Linked DNA regions of Homo sapiens: region 2 is linked to region 1. Evidence: promoter capture Hi-C in 16 types of primary human blood cells and fetal thymus (Javierre and others, 2016). All regions are on one chromosome and are shown on one strand. Each heading gives the region's core, a stretch centred on a gene start or on the middle of the fragment in contact. The rest is flanking DNA. Distances are from core to core; before and after follow the strand shown. Region 1 holds the start of MTOR-AS1 (MTOR antisense RNA 1). Region 2 holds the start of NPPA (natriuretic peptide A).

Evidence for each region. Contacts are between HindIII fragments. The CHiCAGO score rates a contact against its expected background, and 5 or more counts as called.
Region 2: a contact is called between the fragment with the promoter of NPPA here and the fragment with the promoter of MTOR-AS1 in region 1, in 5 of 17 cell types (total B cells, total CD4 T cells, naive CD8 T cells and 2 more). The highest score is 9.0, in total B cells.

The regions. Positions count from the first base shown.
Region 1 is chr1:11,142,134-11,145,393 of GRCh38, reverse strand. It overlaps MTOR-AS1 (MTOR antisense RNA 1), which reads right to left and starts at 1,496. Exons shown (of 4, transcript NR_046600.1): 1 at 1,407-1,496; 2 at 508-727; 3 at 115-241. It overlaps MTOR (mechanistic target of rapamycin kinase), which reads left to right. Exons shown (of 58, transcript NM_004958.4): 33 at 349-426; 34 at 639-746. The HindIII fragment of the contact is 11,786 bases long and covers 1,373-3,260 here.
Region 2 is chr1:11,846,109-11,849,368 of GRCh38, reverse strand. NPPA (natriuretic peptide A) reads left to right here and starts at 1,586. Exons shown (of 3, transcript NM_006172.4): 1 at 1,586-1,807; 2 at 1,930-2,256. The coding sequence starts at 1,685. It also overlaps NPPA-AS1. RefSeq lists an enhancer at 760-2,550. The HindIII fragment of the contact is 12,440 bases long and covers 1-3,260 here.

The DNA of each region.
Region 1 (3,260 bases), core at 247-2,746:
GAAGAAAAAAAAAAGGTAGATCCCCAGTTATGTCCTCTTGAGATGCAAGAACCCATGATTCGGTTTTACAGCCCACATTCCCATGCCCTTGCCACCTAAGATTTTGTGTGTTACCTTAGATAGATGTTAAAGTTTTGGATGCCATACATTTCTGTCTTCGATGAGAAATTGGATAATACCTCCTCTCAAGCCATTCAGTTCTGGGAAAATGCCCTTCTTCAGCGAATTTCTCTTTTCATCCCTGGAATTTAAGTGAGACAGATAACTTCTGTAGCTAGTTGGGGTGCCCTAAAATAACCCTAAGCTCCCAAGTCCAGAGCTCAGTCCCAAGGGTTGTTTCTCTTCTAGTGCATTGACAAGGCCAGGGACCTGCTGGATGCTGAATTAACTGCGATGGCAGGAGAGAGTTACAGTCGGGCATATGGGGTAAGTGTCAACTATTCTGCACATTGTCATTTTTGAGGCTTATTTCCATACTTTTTTCAGAATGGGCTATTGAGAACTTACAGGCTGCTGGAAACATGCCTGTTTTCTCTGATCGGCAGATACCCTGACACCAGAAGGAATGATTTAAATTAATCCTGTCTTTTGGATTGTTCGTGCAGTAATTAGTTTGGAATGCGATTTGCTTCCATCAGGCCATGGTTTCTTGCCACATGCTGTCCGAGCTGGAGGAGGTTATCCAGTACAAACTTGTCCCCGAGCGACGAGAGATCATCCGCCAGATCTGGTGGGAGAGACTGCAGGTGAGCTTGGTAGAAAGCCCCAGTTCACCCACCTACCCCTACCCCTTCCAGGACCTGGGTGAGTGCCCCCCTCCACCCTGGCTCTTACTCAACTTGCTTTTCCTGCCTCCTCCACCAGTGTATTGCTTGGCTTGCATACAAAGCAGAATACTCAAAGGCTCCTCACCTAAACTTAAGCTGTGAGAGAATGACCAATTTTCCAGTCTCTTCTTATTCTCTTCTCTAGGAATTAAAAAAAATGTTTTTTAGTAAGTGACACCTGTGACCAGTCAGTTAGGAATCATAACCTCAAAATCAGTGGTTCTCAACCTTAGCAGCACAGTAGAATCACCTGCAGAGCTTTTTAAAATCCTGATGCCCAGGCTATTCCCCAGGCCAATTAAATTTCTGGGGAGAGACTCAGGATCAGTATCTTTTCAGGTTCCCCCAGATGATTCCACCAGCCAAAGCTAAGAACCACTGCTCTAACTACACTTGGAGGCCACCTGCACCAGCTTTTCAGATGGGGTTGCCTTAGGTTCTCATTGGCCAACTCCTGCTATTTATAGCTACTTAGGTCAGAGTCATCCTGTCGCCTCTATTGAGACTTTTTTTCCACTGCAGTTTCCGCTTGTAGAGAAGAAGCTTTCCCAAGTCCTCCATCAGTGTTTTCATTCTCACATTCTGATCATTTTAACATGAGAAACTGTCACTCCAGGTCTGGGAGTCAGGAGTCTAAATGTTCTGGGAAGGATGGCCAGTTATCCCATTCCTTGAGTGGGTAGGATAGGAAGTTCATCAGCAAAAGAAAAAAGAGAGAAAGCCTTTACCACTCCAGAAACCATTTGTCTCCCTACCTATCATAATCCATCCCCGCAATTATAAACCATTTCCTCTCAACTAGATCCCCACCTAATTGCTAATTCCAAATTCTCGCTTCAGACCAATCGAAGTTTGTGCTTCCAGGCGTCTCAGTAGGCTGCGACAAAACCTTTTGACTCCAAACACATTCCTGCCTAGGAAGCTCAGGGCACATTCCCCTGGACAGGAAAGAGCAATGGGCAAAGGAACATCTATGAATACAGTCATTTATGGCTCTGAAATGAGCACATACAGTTCTTTTACATGTTTTATTAGTAATTATGAAATGCCCAGTGAATGTTTTGATGGAAAATTGTCTCCTGGGCACCAGAAAGAATTCCACAAATAAGCATTTCCCACTTGATTTGTACACACCCCAATTCTTTGAAATGCCTATAATAAAGAGTTTCTACAGCAGAGATCTGATGAACCTTCTGACAGTCTGACAAGTGGGACTTGATCCAAATGTAGACTTAGAGGAGAGGGGAGGCATGGAATGAGTCCTGGGAAGAGAGATGCCTGTCTGACTTTACTGGGTCCAGGACACTGCCACCACCTTAAGCCTTCGTGACTTTCCTATCTTGAGGCAGCAAGATGCTTTTTGGCTTACAGGAGGCCAAATTATTTCAGCATCTGGGAGAACCTAACTATTGGTGAGAAGTCACAAAAAACAATCACTCAGTGTACTTTTTTCTGTTATTTTAACTTTCGAAATCATTGTTGTCACACTTCATGGGATGGAAAAATGTGGTCCAAGGCCTGAAAGTAAAGCATTACATTTATAGTGGAAATTTGGCTCTTGTGGATGGCTTGCTGTCAAATGAACTGCTGGGGCTAGAAAACTGCCATTTTGTGGTCAAATCATTTAAATTAAAATCCCCAACCAGTATTATAGTAGTGGAAAAATACATGTTTGTTACTTTTCTTTGGAGTTGCACCAATGCTTTTGGTTCCTAAGACCCTCCCATAGGGCAGTTAGAGAGGTCAGCCTTACTGGCGCTGGGTCTCTTCTAGCCTTGGGTTCTCCAGTCAGGCTCAGACTGCATCTTATCATAGCTAAAAGCCTGAGATCATTGTCGCTAGACTTTTAAGTTTATCTCCATGGAGGACAGCTCCATGGGTTCATGGAATTTACCATGAAGCAGTAGATCTCAGGAACTCCCCTTCTGAGTCTGACTTCTTATCAACAAGGATGAAAAAGGAGTTCACTTGGCCAGGCATGGTGGCTCACACCTGTAATCCCAGCACTTTGGGAGGCTGAGGCAGGTGGATTGCTTGAGGTCAGGAGTTTGAGACTTAGCCTGGCCAACATAGAGAAACCCCCTCTCTGCTAAAAGAAAAAAATACAAAAATTAGCCAGGCGTGGTGGCGCACACCTGTAATCCCAGCTCCTTGGGAGGCTGAGGCAGGAGAATCGCTTGGACCTGGGAGGCAGAGGTTGCAGTGAGCCAAGATTGCGCCACTGCACTCCAGCCTGAGGGACAGAATGATACTCCATCTCCAAAAAAAAAGGAGTTCTGCCTGCTTCTGCTCCCAAAGTTCTGGGATTACAGGCATGAGCCACCATGCCTGGCCTTCTGATACATTTTAACTTCCCTGCAAGCCACAGCCAAATCCACTGTGAAACACAACGGAGATTTGCTGATAGAATCTCAGGTTAAGGGTACTGTGAGT
Region 2 (3,260 bases), core at 337-2,836, 700 kb before region 1:
CACAACAATCCTGCAAGGTAGGCAGGGAAGATTTCTACTTTATTCATTCATTTATTTATTTATTTTTTGAGACCGAGTCCCACTCTGTTGCCCAGGCTAGAGTGCAGTGGTGCGATCTTGGTTCACTACAACCTCCGCCTCCCAAGGTCAAGCAATTCTTTTACCTCAGCCTCCCTAGTAGCGGGGATTACAGGCACATGCCACCACACCCAGCTAATTTTTATATTTTTAGTAGAGACAGAGTTTTGCCATGTTGGTAGGGCTGGTCTCAAACTCCTGGCCTCAGGTGATCCACCCACCTTAGCCTCCCAAAGTGCTGGGATTATACGTGTGAGCCACTGCACCCGGCCGGTTTTTAACATTCTTTCTCATTTTACACACAAGGAAAGTAAGGCTGCGAAGAGGTATGCAACTGGTTTGTTTTGGGCTACAGTACTGGTCTCTCAGCCCTTCAAATTTAGAGTTTTCCCCCAGTATACGTTGCATTGAATGGTAATGGCTAACACTGAGTTCAGTGCTTAGCAAACAGGCCATTCATTAAACATAGACAGACTTGCTGCCTGTTATTTCCCTTTTGGGGGCCAGGGAAATTGTGACCTTGGTGGCTCGGTCACTTGCCACTTGCCACGTCCTCAGGGAAGGATGTAGAAGGCATTGAGGGAAACTGACTATACCTCCTTCACCCCCACCTCCCTTCCTCCATCGGTCAAGTTGCCACGGGCACAAGCCCAGGAAGGGCAGGGGGATGTTAACAAACTTCAGACACGAAGAGTCTGAGCATCTATAAACAGCAACGGAAGAAATGAAATTGGCTGCGTCCTCTAAGCCTGTCCCCGCAGCATGCTGGAGGAGGGTCGCGGGGGACATGGAAGAGGAGGAGCTTTGGAGAGAGGATGCTTGTGCTCCCCCGCCTTTTCTTGCTATTTCTATTTGGGGGTTGGATTCCTGGGAGCTTCATCACATTTGGTTCTCAGCTGACTTTATATACTAAAAAATAACTTCCTTTCGCCTGACCATGGAGAGGGACTGCCAGGGGTGAAGGCAGCCCTGTCTGAGGCCAGAGGTCTGCCCACGTGGCGGATGAGGCAGGTGTGAGGCCAGCTTGAGCATCTGGATCCATTTGTCTCGGGCTGCTGGCTGCCTGCCATTTCCTCCTCTCCACCCTTATTTGGAGGCCCTGACAGCTGAGCCACAAACAAACCAGGGGAGCTGGGCACCAGCCAAGCGTCACCCTCTGTTTCCCCGCACGGGTACCAGCGTCGAGGAGAAAGAATCCTGAGGCACGGCGGTGAGATAACCAAGGACTCTTTTTTACTCTTCTCACACCTTTGAAGTGGGAGCCTCTTGAGTCAAATCAGTAAGAATGCGGCTCTTGCAGCTGAGGGTCTGGGGGGCTGTTGGGGCTGCCCAAGGCAGAGAGGGGCTGTGACAAGCCCTGCGGGATGATAACTTTAAAAGGGCATCTCCTGCTGGCTTCTCACTTGGCAGCTTTATCACTGCAAGTGACAGAATGGGGAGGGTTCTGTCTCTCCTGCGTGCTTGGAGAGCTGGGGGGCTATAAAAAGAGGCGGCACTGGGCAGCTGGGAGACAGGGACAGACGTAGGCCAAGAGAGGGGAACCAGAGAGGAACCAGAGGGGAGAGACAGAGCAGCAAGCAGTGGATTGCTCCTTGACGACGCCAGCATGAGCTCCTTCTCCACCACCACCGTGAGCTTCCTCCTTTTACTGGCATTCCAGCTCCTAGGTCAGACCAGAGCTAATCCCATGTACAATGCCGTGTCCAACGCAGACCTGATGGATTTCAAGGTAGGGCCAGGAAAGCGGGTGCAGTCTGGGGCCAGGGGGCTTTCTGATGCTGTGCTCACTCCTCTTGATTTCCTCCAAGTCAGTGAGGTTTATCCCTTTCCCTGTATTTTCCTTTTCTAAAGAATTTGCTGGACCATTTGGAAGAAAAGATGCCTTTAGAAGATGAGGTCGTGCCCCCACAAGTGCTCAGTGAGCCGAATGAAGAAGCGGGGGCTGCTCTCAGCCCCCTCCCTGAGGTGCCTCCCTGGACCGGGGAAGTCAGCCCAGCCCAGAGAGATGGAGGTGCCCTCGGGCGGGGCCCCTGGGACTCCTCTGATCGATCTGCCCTCCTAAAAAGCAAGCTGAGGGCGCTGCTCACTGCCCCTCGGAGCCTGCGGAGATCCAGCTGCTTCGGGGGCAGGATGGACAGGATTGGAGCCCAGAGCGGACTGGGCTGTAACAGCTTCCGGGTAAGAGGAACTGGGGATGGAAATGGGATGGGATGGACACTACTGGGAGACACCTTCAGCAGGAAAGGGACCAATGCAGAAGCTCATTCCCTCTCAAGTTTCTGCCCCAACACCCAGAGTGCCCCATGGGTGTCAGGACATGCCATCTATTGTCCTTAGCTAGTCTGCTGAGAAAATGCTTAAAAAAAAAAGGGGGGGGGGCTGGGCACAGTGGCTCACGCCTGTAATCCCAGCACTTTGGGAGGCCGAGGCAGGCGGATCATGAGGTCAAGAGATCAAGACTATCCTGGCCAACATGGTGAAACCCCAGCTCTACTAAAAATACAAAAATTAGCTGGGTGTGGTGGCGGGCACCTGTACTCTCAGCTACTTGGGAGGCTGAGGCAGGAGAATCACTTGAACCCAGGAGGCAGAGGTTGCAGTGAGCAGAGATCACGCCACTGCAGTCCAGCCTAGGTGATAGAGCGAGACTGTCTCAAAAAAAAAAAAAAAAGGCCAGGCACGGTGGCTCACGCCTGTAATCCCAGCGCTTTGGGAGGCCAAGGCGGGTGGATCACGAGGTCAGGAGATGGAGACCATCCTGGCTAACACGGTGAAACCCCGTCTCTACTAAAAATACAAAAAATTAGCCAGGCGTGGTGGCAGGCGCCTGTAAGTCCTAGCTACTCCGGAGGCTGAGGCAGGAGAATGGCGTGAACCCGGGAGGCGGAGCTTGCAGTGAGCAGAGATGGCACCACTGCACTCCAGCCTGGGCGACAGAGCAAGACTCCGTCTCAAAAAAAAAAAAAAAAAAAGCAACTGCCACTAGCACTGGGAAATTAAAATATTCATAGAGCCAAGTTATCTTTGCATGGCTGATTAGCAGTTCATATTCCTCCCCAGAATTGCAAGATCCTGAAGGGCTTAAGTGAAATTTACTCTGATGAGTAACTTGCTTATCAATTCATGAAGCTCAGAGGGTCATCAGGCTGGGGTGGGGGCCGGTGGGAAGCAGGTGGTCAGTA